Linked DNA regions of Homo sapiens: regions 2 and 3 are each linked to region 1. Evidence: promoter capture Hi-C in human tissues and cell types (Jung and others, 2019). All regions are on one chromosome and are shown on one strand. Each heading gives the region's core, a stretch centred on a gene start or on the middle of the fragment in contact. The rest is flanking DNA. Distances are from core to core; before and after follow the strand shown. Region 1 holds the start of MLXIP (MLX interacting protein). Region 2 overlaps KDM2B (lysine demethylase 2B). Region 3 overlaps KDM2B (lysine demethylase 2B).

Region 1 (4,366 bases), core at 656-3,155:
GCAGAGACTGACCAATGTGCCGGGTAAGGGGGATGGGAGGAGGAGCTACGGGAACAGATCATCAGGGAAACCTTCAAGAGAGGAAATAGGGGTGTTTCAGGAACATAACAAAGAACAAGTTGACTAATCGTTTATTCCAGGGACCGCGGCGGTGAGGGGGGTGCCATCCAGGGCTAAGTATCTAATATTTTAACTTCAGGTAAAAGCATAACATTTAAACCTGGATATGCTTGGGGCTCACAGCTCTCTTAAAAAGGTGAGGTGAGAGGGGGCAAGATATTCCTGCTCTTTTATTACGCTGTTTATGGAGTCTCCTAGGAAACTTCTCCCGCGATGCCTCCAGAGCAGACCTAAGACAGCCCCCGCTAGTCCAGTTCCTAATGCAATAAGCTTAACTCAGCAGAGATCCCATCATGAGCTTTCTGCAGGGCCAAGCTGCTCAAGGCCGCTGCTGCCAGTCCAAAGAAGTTCTGTTGCGCAGACAAAAAAGTTACCTGCAGCAAATACCTAATATTCATAGTGGGAAAGGGAGAGAGAGTGAAAAAGCGCTTTAATCTTTGAGGGCCAGGCATTTTCTGTGACTTGGAAAAGAGGAATCTCTGCCCAGAGCCGAATCCACATGTCAGAACGGTGTCTGGGATGTCTGCCCTCAACAATGACATCTCCCTCATATAATGTTTCAGGACCGGCCAGAAAACCCTCCAACTTGCCAGAAGGACAGACTGCACCTCCAACAGCTGTGGCACCAAAAGTCTTCTTAGGAGGCACCCAAAGCCCTCCCGAGATGGGGGCGGGCCTCCCGATGAGGTTGTAAGGGGGCCAGCCTCCAGGTGCAGGGACACCTAACTCTGGCCAAGCACTGGAATAAGCAATTTACCTATCTCACTCCATCCCCACAACAGCCCCTTGGAGGCAGACACTACAGTCATTCCCCTTTTATAAAGGAGGAAACAGGCTCCGAGGTGTTACACAACCATTAAACAGCAGAGCCAGCCTCCAGTCACCCCGAACAGGTGGTCCTGACCGCTGCTGGATATGGGGGAAACACACAAAGCGTTTGGAGGAAGGAGTCGATAGAGTCGGGTAACACAAGATGCAGCCAGTGTTTATACCTCTTCCTCGTCCAACATCGGTGGTCCCAGGACACTGGAGGGGAGGGCCTGGATGGGGAACGTGAACCCGAAAGGACCCCGGCACTGCTGGCAGGGGAAGAGGCCAGGACCCCGGCTCCTCTGGCAACGCGGGGAACCCCAGATCCATAAACCCTCCCGAAGGAGGAAGACCCAAAGGGAATGCATGAAGCCACGGGGTTGCCAGGCGGCCCTTCCCTCCACGCTTGTTTTGTCAAACAAGGGCCTCCGGCCGGGGCCTCAGGGGGTCGCGGGGGTCCCTACCTGTAGGCCAAAGTCATGCACTCGAAGAGCTTGGTGAGCGAGGCGTCGATGGACAGGTGGCAGGAGCTAGTCTTGCCGAAGCTGTAGGTCTGGCACGTCTGTTTGTTGACCGTGTCGAAATCGTAGCCCTTCTTGGGCGGGTGCTCTCGGTGCGGCGACGACACCATGAAGTGGCCGCTGTGGATGATCTGCTGGCGGCGCGGAGGTTCCTCGCGGCCCGGCCCGGCCCGAGGCGGCGGTGGCGCGGCGCTCGCGTGGGCCCGGGCCGGGGTGGCCGCGCCGGAGGCGGGCGGCGGGGACGGCTCATCCGTGTCCGAGTCGTCGTCGTCCTCGGACACCTGGGGCTTGAGCAGCACCTGGCGGCCCCGGCTGCGAGGCCGGCGCGGGGAGCACATGAAGACGTCGGCGGCCATGAGAAGGGCTCGGCCGGGGGCATCCCCCGGAGCCCGGGGCAACGCGACAAGCGCGCGAGGCAGAGGGGCGCCGGCCCGGCCCGGCCCGCGCGCCGACTGTCCGCGAGCGCGCGGCGCGGCGGGAGGGGGAGGGCTCCGGCCCCGGCGTGACGTCACCGAGGCGTCTGGGCCAATCGGCTGCCCGCGTCGGCCTCTTAAAGGCGCAGGGGAACCTTTCCTTAGCTAGGCGGACCAAAAAAAAAAAAAAAGGGGAAGCGGAGGCCACGCCTCCCGGCCGTGCCCCTCGCCACCTCCTCCTCTCCCGGCGTCCGTGGGTGCTGAGGGACACGGTGGCCGGGCGGAGCGGCTCGCCGGTGTCGCGACCTGGGAGAGGCGTCGGCAGAGTGGGGCCGTGCTAGTCCCGCCCCCGCCCCGCTCCGCGCCCCGGGAGTCGCCCTGTGGCTTCGCCGCAGGCCCGGCCGGCTCCACGTGGTGGGTGCGGGTGGGGCTCCTCGGCCTCCAGGCCCTGCTTTTTCCCTGCCGGGCGGTACCGAGTCCTCGCAGCTCACGCCTGAGTTTGCCGGACGTGGTGGCTATTGTCCTCATTATTCTCATCGTATTGATGGGAACACTGGGTGGCTGAATACCGACAGGATTTTTCTCAGACCTGGAGTCCACAGAGCTGGGAACTTGCTTCCCCTGCGCGTCCCCAGCTCGGCGCAGCTGTTGAGTGGCAGCGCCCCTGAGCCCAGCGACCTCCAGACCCCAGCTCTTTTAACTTCAACTCAGCATGCTGTTGTTATTTTTTTAAAGTTTGACGGACGAGCCAGCCCCCGAAACAATTCTAAAAGGGGAGTATCTGAGCCAGAGTTTTCTTCTCTGTCAAATGGTGAACAATTCCGTTTCCTCAGAAACTTGGGACAGTTTAAAAATGGCTATAGTGGGGCGCGGTGGCTCATGCCTGTAATCCTAGCACTTTTGGAGGCCGAGGCGGGTGGATCACTTGAGGCCAGAAGTTCAAGACCAGCCAGGCCAACACGGTGAAACCCTGTCTCTACTAAAAATAACAAAAATTAGCCGGTCGTAGTGGTGCACCCCTGTAATCCCAGCTACTCGGGAGGCTGAGGCAGGAGAATCGCTTGAATCCGGGAGGTGGAGGTTGCAGTGAGCCGAGATTGCGCCATTGCACTCTAGCCTGGGCGACAGAGCGAGGCCCTGTCTCAAAAAGAAAAATAAATACAAATAAAAATGGCTATAAGTTGCTTAGCAGGCAGGCTGGCACAAAATGAGCGCTAAATAAATGTGCCACAGGTTGGAGGATTTGGATCAACCAGACCAGAGGTGCCTAGAAATTGCCAATAGTCCACCACTATTTGACCTGCAGAAACGGCAACTTCGCGTGGCACAACCTAACTGACAGACACCTCTAGAAAGCTGTCAAGGTTTCCGGGGCTCAAAGCCAGTCTGGGGTGGGGGTGGCAGGGCATCAGAAGAGCCAGTGAGGCCCATGAGCCAGGAACACCCATCCTAATCCTAGCAGGGCGTCCAGAGTCCACAGCCACTCCTGCACTCTGCTTTGTTTTATTGTTGTTTTGTTTTTTGAGACAGAGTCTTGCTCTGTCACCCAAGGCTGTAGCGCAGTGGTGCAATCACCATGTTGGCCAGGCCGGTCTGGAACTCCTGACCTCAAGTGAGGCCTGCCTTGGACTCCCAAAGTGCTGGGATGACAGGCATGAGCCACCGCGCTGGCTCTGCACTCGGCTTTGAAGCTGGTTTCAGTTCCAGATTTGAGTGGGGGGTGAGTCCCCTGCCCCACCCTCTTCCTGACAAAGGCCTCCTGAAGGGAACAGAGGGCTCTCACCAAAATGGCTCCATTAACTTATTTCCAAATGTCTGTATGGAAAAATGGGCTGGATGACTGGCAGTTTTCAGGCATGAGTTCTAGATTTCCCTCTTCAACCTACTACTGTTCCCAATGCTGGTTACAAGTGTTTAAAAGTCCATCCTTTGAGTTGCCTTCCTTTCTCTCAAGACTTGTCTCCTTGGTCCTTGGTAAGTTTACATGCCCAGCCACTTTTTTTTTTTTTTTTTTTTGAGACAGGATCTGGCTCTTTCACCTGGACTGGAGTGGAGTGGTGCCATCATGGCTCACAGCACCCTCAACCTCCAGGGCTCAGGTGATCCTCCCACCTCAACTTCCCAAGTAGCAGGACCACAGGTGCACACCACCGTGCCCTGCTAATTTTTGTACTTTTTATAGAGATGGGGTCTCGCCATGCTGCCCAGCCTGGTCTCGTCTCGAGTTCCTGACCTCAAGTGATCCTCCTGCCTCAGCCTCCCAAGGTGCTAGAATTACAGGTGTGAGCCACCATGCCCTGCTTTTTTGTCTTTGTGTTTACCTATATTTTCTTTCTTTTTTTTTTTTTTTGAGACAGGGTCTCACTGTGTCACATTGGTGTGATCGTGGCTCACTGTAGCCTCAACCTCCCCTGCCCAAGCTATCCTCCCACCTCAGTCTCCCGAGTAGCTGTGACCACAGGTGGGCACCACCACACCCAGCTAATGTTTAATTTTTTTGTA
Region 2 (4,366 bases), core at 934-3,433, 600 kb after region 1:
CTGAGGTGGGAGGATTGCTTGAGCCTGGGCAACGGAGATTGCAGTGAGCCGAGATCGTGCCACTGCCTTCCAGCCTGGGCAACAGAGTGAGACCCTGTGTTCAAAAAGAAAAAAACAGAGCCTGAGCCCAGTATAAATAATTGGGGTCAGCTGGGCGCAGTGGCTCACGCCTGTAATCCCAGCACTTTGGGAGGCCGAGGCGGGTGGATCATGAGGTCAGAAGATCGAGACCATCCTGGTTAACACGGTGAAACCCCGTCTCTACTAAAAATACAAAAAATTATCTGGGCGTAGTGGCGGGAGCCTGTAGTCTCAGCTACTCGGGAGGCTGAGGCAGGAGAATGGCGTGAACTTGGGAGGCGGAGGTTGCAGTGAGCCGAGATCACGCCACTGCACTTCAGCCTGGGCGACAGAGCACGACTCCGTCTTAAAAAAAAAAAAAAAAGGATCTACTTGAGGGTGGAGGTAGGCAGGAGAGGGCGAGGATCAAAAAACATTACCTATTGGGTATTGTTGTGCTTACTACCGGAGTGGCGAAATGATCTGTACACCAGTCCCCTTCGACACACCATTTACCTATATAACAAACCCGCCCATGTACTGCTGAACATAAAAAGAAAAAAAATATTGGAAGCTGGACGCAGTGGCTCATTCCTGTAATCCCAGCACTTTGGGAGGGGAGGCCAAGGCGGGAGGGTTATTTGTTGACCATCCTGGGCAACATGGAGAGAACCTGTTTCTACAGAACTTTTAAAAAGATTTAAGGCCAGTTGAGGTGGCTCACGCCTGTAATCCCAACACTTTGGGAGGCTGAGACGGGAGGATCCCTTGAGCTCAGGAGTTCAAGACCAGCCTGGGCAACATAATGAGATCCCCGTCTCCATAAAAATTTTTTTAATGATAAAAAAAAGTTTTAAAATAAGAAAAAAGCCTGGGCACGATGGCTCACACCTGTAATCCTAGCACTTTGGGAGGCCAAGGCAGGTGGATCACCCGAGGTCAAGAGTTTGAGACCAGCCTGGCCAACATGGTGAAACTTTGTCTCTACTAACAATATAAAAATTAGCTGGGTGTGGTGGCAGACACCTATAATCCCAGCTACTCTGGAGGCTGAGGCACAAGAATCGCTTGAACCCGGGAGGCAGAAGTTGCAGTGAACCGAGATCATGCTATCGCACTCCAGCCTGAGTGACAAGAGCAAAACTCCATCTCCAAAAAAAAAAAAAAGGAAAGACAAAAAGAAAAGAAGAAAAAAATTAGCTGGGCATGGTGGCATGCACCTGTAGTCCTAGCTCCTCAGGAGGCTAAGGAGGGAGGATCCCTTGAGCTCAGGAGTTGGAGGGTGTAGTGGGCTGTGATTGTGCCACTGCACTCCAGCGTAGGTGACAGAGTAGACTTTGTCTCTTAAAAAAATAAATACATATATACATACATATATAAAAATAACTGGGGCCAGGCCAGGTATGGTAGCTCATACCTGTAATGAAAGGTATTTTTACAATACCTTTTTAGAAGGTACCATTTTTAGAAGCCAAGGTGAGACCATGCCTCCACAAAAAATAAAAAAAATTAGCCTGGTGTGGTGGCTTTGTGCCTGTAGTCCCAGCTAGTTGGATGAGATGGGGGGATTGCTTGAGGCCTGGAGTTAGAATCTGCAGTCAGCTATCATTGGCACCACTGCACTCCAGCCTGGGTGACAGAGTGAGACTCCGTCTCTACAAGATTCAAATTAAAAAAATTGTTTCATCAGGAGATGAAAAATGATCTTTGAAGAATGTCATTCCGTGTGAATTAGCTGGCGATGTTTGGCAGAGCTTTTCCTTGTCAACTGGGGCTACCCCTAAAAACAGTTCCTCCTGAGCCAGCAGTGTGAGGGCTTCACTTCTTGCCCTTTAAATGCTGATTTTCAAAGTAAGGAGTTGGTTAATGGCTATTTCAAATGGTGACAATAGATTTTGTCAGGCTTTTTCTATTTTGAGTGTCTTGATGGATCTATGAAAATCCATGAAATGAAGAACAAGAATGGTAACTGAAGAGAGAGGCCCATGGCAGCAGCCAGGGAAAGGGAGGAGGGAGGGAAGGAAGGAGGGAGAGAAAAGCCATATGTATTGGAATTAAAGTGTCATCGGAGCCCATCAGACCCCCACAGTGACTGTTAGCAGCTCATTTAAGAGGTGATTGAACTATCTCTTTGTTTCAGTTAGTTTTAACACATCCCGGGGTTTAGGGCCTATAGTTTCTAACCGTGTTACCTTTCAGGAATAGGACCTAAAGTCACTCTTTTTAATTTTATTTTTAAGAGACAGGGTTTTTTTTTTTTAAAAACAAAAAACAAAAAACTACCTGTTGGATGCCGCTTGTCTTGTTCGGTCACCCAGGGTGGAGTGCAGTGGCGTGATCATAGCTCACTGCAGCCTGGGACTCCTGAGCTCAAACAGTACTCCCACTTCAGCCTCCCAAATAGCTGGGACTACAGGCATACTACCATGCTCGGCTAATTTTTTTTTTTTTGAGGCGAAGTCTCGCCCTCGTCCTTCAGGCTGGAGTGTAATGGCACAATCTTGGCTCACTGCAACCTCCGCCTCCCGGGTTTGAGTGACTCTCCTGCCTCAGCCTCCCGAGTAGCTGGGATTACAGGTGCCTGCCACCATACCCAGCTAATTTTTGTATTTTTAGTAGAGACAGGGTTTCACCATGTTGGCCAGGCTGGTCTTGAACTCCTGACCTCAGGTGATCTGCCCGCCTTGGCCTCCCAAAGTGCTGGGATTACAAGCGTGAGCCACCGTGCCGGGCATTTTTTTTTTTTTTGGACACAGAGTCTCACTCTATTGCTCAGGCTGGTCTCAAACTCCTGGACTCAAGTAATCCTCCTACCTTGCCCTCCCAAAGTGTTGGGATAACAGGTGTGAGCCACTGCCCCTGGCCTAAAATCTCTCTTGAGTGATGATAGAGCCATAGGGAGATGCCCCAACTCTTGGAGAGAAAATAACATCTATTCAAAGACGTGGGGGTTGTGGGGCAGGGGGGTTAGTCTTCTCCTCATCTCCAAGATTTTCTTTCTAAAAAAAATTTTTTTTTATAGATGGGGTCTTGCCATGTTGCCCAGGCTGGTCTCAAACTCTTGGGCTCAAGCAATCCTCCTGCCTTAGCCTCTCAAAGTCCTAGGATTACAGTCATGAGCCACTGTGCCTGTTTTTTTTGTTTTGTTTTTTGAGACAGAGTCCCTGTCTGTCACCCAGGGTGACTGAGTGCAGTCACAATCTTGGCTCACTGCAGCCGCAACCTGTTGGGCTCAAATGATCCTCACACCTCAGCCTCTTGAGTAGCTGGGACTTAAAAGTGCATGCCACCTTGCCTGGCTAAATTTTCTTCTATTTTTTGTAAAGACAGGGTCTCAGTGTGTTGCCCAGGCTGGTCTCAAGCTCTCTGGGCTCAAGTGATCCTCCTGCTTCAGCCTCCCAAAGTGTTGGCATTACGGGTATGAGCTTCCACACCTGGCCTCCAAGTTTTGGTATAGTTTTTTTGTGTGTCCATTTTTGACCAGATTAGCTAACCTAGGGAAGACATGTCTGATGAAATACACACACACACACACACACACACACACACACACACACACACACAGAGTCATGTGTAGTTTAATGACAGGGATACATTCTGAAGAATGCATCATTAGGCAATTTCGTCATAGAATGTCCTTATACAAACCTAGATGATATAGCCCTCTACACACCTGGGCTGTATGGTAAAGCCTGTTGCTCCTGGGCTGCAAACTTGTACAGCATGCTACTGTATGAATACTGTAGGCAACTGTAACACTATGGTAGGTATTTTTGGTTTTCTGTTTGTTTGAGACAGAGTCTCGCTCTGTCTCCCAGGCTGGAGAGCAGTGAGTGGCATGATCATGGCTCAATGCAGCCTCAAACTCCCAGGCTCAAGAGATCCTCCTTCCTCGGCCTCCCCAGGTGCTGGGACTGCAGATGTGCACCACCACGCCCAGCTAATGTTTGTATTTTTTGTAGAGATAGGGTTTTGCCGTGTTGCCAGGTTGGTCTCCAACTCCTGTGTTCAAGGAATTCGCCCACCTCAGCCTTCCAAAGTGCTGGCATTACAGGCGTGAGCCACCATGCCCAGCTATTTTTGTATCTAAGCATAGAAAAGGTACAGTAAAAATATGGTATTATATTCTTGTGGGACCACAATCATTGACCAAAACGTTTTTCTGCAAGAGCATGACTGTATATGCTTTTTGTTGAGGTAATATCTACCTAACCTAAATTTTTATTTTTTTGAGATGGAGTCTTGCTCTGTTGCCCAGGCTGTAGTGCAGTGGCGAGATCTCTGCTCACTGTAAGCTCTGCCCCCC
Region 3 (4,366 bases), core at 1,065-3,564, 550 kb after region 1:
CCGGGAGGCAGAGCTTGCAGTGAGCAGAGATCACGTCACTGCACTCCAGCCTGGGCGACAGAGCGAGACTCCGTCTCAAAAAATATAAAAAAGAAATTTATTTAATTTTTCAGACAGAGCGTTGCTCTTGTTGCCAAGGCTGGAGTGCAATGGCATGATCTCGGCTCACTGCAACCTCCGCCTCCTGGGTTCAAGTGATTCTCCTGCCTCAGCCTCCTGAGTAGCTGGGATTACAAGTGTGCACCACCACGCCCAGCTAATTTTTGTAGTTTTAGTAGAGACGTGGTTTTACCATGTTGCCCAGGCTGGTCTTGAACTCCTGACCTCAGGTGATCGGCCCGCCTCGGCCTCCCCAAGTGCTGGGATTACAGGTGTGAGCCACTGTGCCCGGCTAAAAAAATTTTTAAATTTTGTTTTAGAGACATGGTCTTGCTCTTGTGCCCAGACTGGAGTGCAATGTTGTGATCACAGCTCATTGCAGTGTTGCCTTGACCTCCTGGGCTTAAACAATCGTCCTATCACAGCCTCTAGGGTAGCTGGGACTACAGGCATGTGACACCATTTTTTTTTAAACAAATAAAGAAAATACCTAAGGCCCAAGATCTCACAGTGACCAGGTCAGAGCAAGAACCCAGGTGTGCCTACTTTGAAAACACATATTCCTAAATATACCTACTTTGAACTCCAGTAGCTTGGGAGTCAGGAGACTTGGGATCTGGTCCTCCTTCTTGACTCTTGACTATGTGAGAACTATTTGCTCATTTAACAAACTTTCTTTTTTTTTTCCCCTGAGGCAGAGTCTTGCTCTGTCACCCAGGCTGGAGGGCAATGGCACAATATTGGCTCACTGCAACTTTTACCTCCTGGGTTCAAGTGATTCTCCTGCCTCAGCCTCCTGAGTAGCTGGGATTACAGGCGTGTGCCACCACACCCAGCTAATTTTTTCTATTTTTAGTAGAGACGGGGTTTCATCATGTTGGCCAGGCTGGTTTCAAACTCCTGACTTCAAGTGATCCGCCTGCCTTGGCCTCCCAAAGTGCTGGGATTACAGGTGTGAGCTACCAGTCTCGGCTTCATTTAACAAACTTTCTTAAGGGCCCACTTGGTGCCAGATGATGTGGGGGGCCTTGGAGGGGACATAAGACAGATCCCCTCCCTCCTGAGAGCAGCTTATCCAGCCAGGTGGCATCCAGGGTGGCAGAGGCCAGTATGGGGACCTTATTTGTCATATAAGTGGGGATGGCAGTGCCTGGGGAAGACCCAGGGATCTGTGACTTGGGCTGGCCTAAAGTTATTTCCCATCCTTGCATTCTAGAAAGAACCACTGAAGACCCAAATATCATGGTAGCCCCAGGTATTTCTTACACTCCAGCAAGTCTGAGAAGAAATTCCTTAATGGTGTCACGTGGTTGGGCCTCAGACGATCCATCTATCAAATGGGTCTAAAGCAGGGAAGGGGACTGGATGGGTTGGGGCCGTGGGAAACTGGGCAGTACCTGCTCAGCCAGTCCAGCTAGGGCCAGGTGGGAATCCAGACCTTCCTATTTTTCTAGGTGGAAGGCAGCATTTCAGATTGTCACATGGAATGTACTGGCGTGGCACGGTGGCTCACGCCTGTAATCCCAGCACTTAGCACTTTGGGAGGCTGAGGTGGGCGGATCACCTGAGGCTGGGAGTTAGAGACCGGCTTGGCCAACATGGTAAAACCTCATCTCTAGTAAAAATTTGTGTGCCTGTGATTCCAGCTACTCAGGAGGCTGAGGCAGGAGAATGGCTTGAACCTGGGAGGTGGAGGTTGCAGTGAGCCGAGATGGCACCACTGCACTCCAGCCTGGGTGACACAGTAAGGCTCTGTCTCAAAAAAACAAAAACCCAACAAAACAACAACAAAAGAAATATCCCCATTTTTAAACATGGGGTGGCGTGAAGTAATTGGCCCCTGGTCCCAACTATGAGGTCCTTGAAGGGAGAGTATCCTTACTTCATGTCAGCAGCCACAGGTTCGTTCCTGATCCTGGCCCGGCGCAGGGAGTTCACTGATGTCGGTGAAAGAAGCCAGGGTCCGGTTGGGTTGTGGGCGTCTGTGAGGTGTCCCTTGCCCAGTTCTGAGACCTCTAGGTTTATTCCTGCTAAAGCCACAGAGGTGGAGGCAGATGTGGGTGGGGCCTTTGGATTCCGAGTCCTGAGCAGACGCTCAGGTTGTGGGTGAGCCCCACCTGCCCCTGCTGCCCTTCTTGGGCCCCCTGAGGTCCCAGAGAATGTGCTGCTTTGTGTATCACTGGCTTCCCATCTATGACTGCATCTGTCCCTGGTCGCTTGGCCTGAATAGCCTCTGTTTATTGCCTTCATATTGTCGATGACTCTGGCTGGAAGCAGGAGGCAGATGCCAGCGTTCCCAGCCCAGGCAGCAGCCTGGGAGCACCGGCTCTCATGCTTCCTGGGCTGTCGAGAGGCCATCGGAGGAGGGGTATGGATGGGGCCCACAAACGCTGTTATTTCCACACCTCCTTCTTACTGAGGGAGGCATGTGGGTAATGAAGCAGATGTGAGCAGAGCTGGGGGAGGGACGCAGTGGCGGCTAATCCAGGGGTGGCTGCCTGACCCACCCTTGAGGCCCTGGCTGCGAAGGGGAGTGGGTAAAAGCTTCTAGAATCCCTCGAGTGTCTGGGCGTGCAGATCCCCTGCCCCCTCCTCGCAGCAGCAGCTCTCCTCTGTGTTCCTCTTTCCTCACGTGTCAGGGCAACAGATGTAAGTCAGGTGCGTTGGCCTCTGCACCTGCCAGGAGAACAGGGAGAGTCCAGGGCTGGGAAAGATGGATGCATGTGGGCACCATCCTCTACCAGAGCCCTTGTGATCGACAGAGACAACCACAGATACCAATGCCAATTGCTTATATGGATTCAGGACTTGCTCACCAAGTTCCCCAGAAGGGAGGGGAGTGGAGGGGACAGGATGGAACCCTAGCCCCTGGACTTGGGCTTTCTGCAGGGAGGGAGGTAGGCTTGTGGGGCCATATAAGATGCACCTGCCTGTGCATCACATGACCCGGTGGTCCCGGGTCCCAATCTTAGGAAATGTTGCTAGGATAACGGGGATGGCGACAATAACAGCATTCAATAGCATGGTTCCACTTGGTGGAAACATGGAAATGTTGAGGTCAGCCTGCAGGCAGCAGAGGCAGGAGACTGAAGCGGATGTGGAGACAGAGGCTCTTTCAGGGCGGCAGCCATGCTTCTGTGCAGAGGAGGGTGAAGGTCGTGGGATGGGAAGCTGGGGAGCTCGACGGCCGCTTGCAACCGCACAGAGCAGCTGTCTTTCATGGCTCACGCCAGAGACCCGGGGAGCCAGGCACAGAACGAGGTTGCCTAAAGCAAAGCCCTCGTGCCTGTACCCGGCAGCACTGGGCTTCTGGTGATGAGCTTTCCCTTGCTCTCCCCTGAGGATGGCCAGCTCTGTTCCATGCGTTGCCCTGGTGGGAAGGGACAGCGGCTGAGTGTCCACTGCGGATGCCAGCAGTGGCCCCGCAGTCTGTGCTGTCTTCCAGGCAGGAGCGTTGCTCCCAGCAGTGGTGACCACCCATGACTCAGGGCTGGCGTGTTTCATTGGGGGACAGACTGGAACCGCTCGGGCTTGGGGGGCAGAGGCAGTCGCTGTAATTTTCCTCAGAGCAAAAGAATAAAGTGCATGGCTGGGAGAGGAGGGGACAGCGGCCTCCAGGGCCAGGCCCTTCAAGGTGCAGGGTCTTGGGGCACCGCCACCCTTCCCTCTGCTGCACCATTCCCCCAGCCAACCCTCCTCTGTCCTTCACTGTGAGTTGCTCCGCCTCTGTCCGCCCTTGTCCTTATTTCTCTCTGCGTTTCTCCTTTTGCCTCCCCTCTGTATTTCCCAGCCTTTCCCCCGGGACTTGCAGTCCTGTGCAGAACCTTTGATGCAGCGGCAGCTGTGCAGCGTGCTGGCTAAAAACGGAGCCGCTGTCGCTTGCCAGCTGTGACTCATTCAGCAAGTGGCTTCCCCCTTTGTGCCCTCAGTTTCAGCATCTGTGAATTGGGGTTGATTCTCCTCCTGCCCATCTCCTAGCCCCACGCTGTGTGACCCGGCAGCCAGGAGCCACACACATGTCACCTGAGCACTTGCAGTATGGCCACTGTGAATTGCAGTGCAGTAGCTGTGTGTCCCAGTGAATGAGGGGCTTTCTCCCAGCCTTCATGGACCATGCAGAGCCCGACTTCCCGGGCTCAAAATCCTGATAGGTGACTTCATTTTTCTGTGCCTCACTTTCCTCATCCATAATTTTTGTTGTTGTTTTTGGCTCTGTCTCCCAGGCTGGAGTGCAGTGGTGCGATCTTGGCTCACTGCAACCTCCACC

The links. Contacts are between HindIII fragments. The study calls those that stand out against the background at their distance.
Region 2: a contact is called between a fragment that was not itself captured here and the fragment with the promoter of MLXIP in region 1, in 2 of the 25 tissues and cell types used here (aorta and dorsolateral prefrontal cortex).
Region 3: a contact is called between a fragment that was not itself captured here and the fragment with the promoter of MLXIP in region 1, in 1 of the 25 tissues and cell types used here (dorsolateral prefrontal cortex).

Annotation. Positions count from the first base shown.
Region 1 is chr12:122,076,295-122,080,660 of GRCh38, reverse strand. MLXIP (MLX interacting protein) reads right to left here and starts at 1,905. Exons shown (of 17, transcript NM_014938.6): 1 at 1,395-1,905. The coding sequence starts at 1,807. RefSeq lists enhancers at 1,323-1,562, 3,630-3,679 and silencers at 1,623-2,072, 2,083-2,362. The HindIII fragment of the contact is 9,979 bases long and covers 1-4,366 here.
Region 2 is chr12:121,474,441-121,478,806 of GRCh38, reverse strand. The region is part of intron 12 of KDM2B (lysine demethylase 2B); the gene reads left to right. Among named protein-coding and RNA genes, the nearest start is that of MIR7107, 32 kb to the right of the region's middle. RefSeq lists an enhancer at 1,784-2,611. The HindIII fragment of the contact is 8,981 bases long and covers 1-4,366 here.
Region 3 is chr12:121,522,777-121,527,142 of GRCh38, reverse strand. All of the region lies in intron 8 of KDM2B (lysine demethylase 2B), which reads left to right. Among named protein-coding and RNA genes, the nearest start is that of KDM2B-DT, 56 kb to the left of the region's middle. RefSeq lists an enhancer at 3,742-3,931. The HindIII fragment of the contact is 6,227 bases long and covers 1-4,366 here.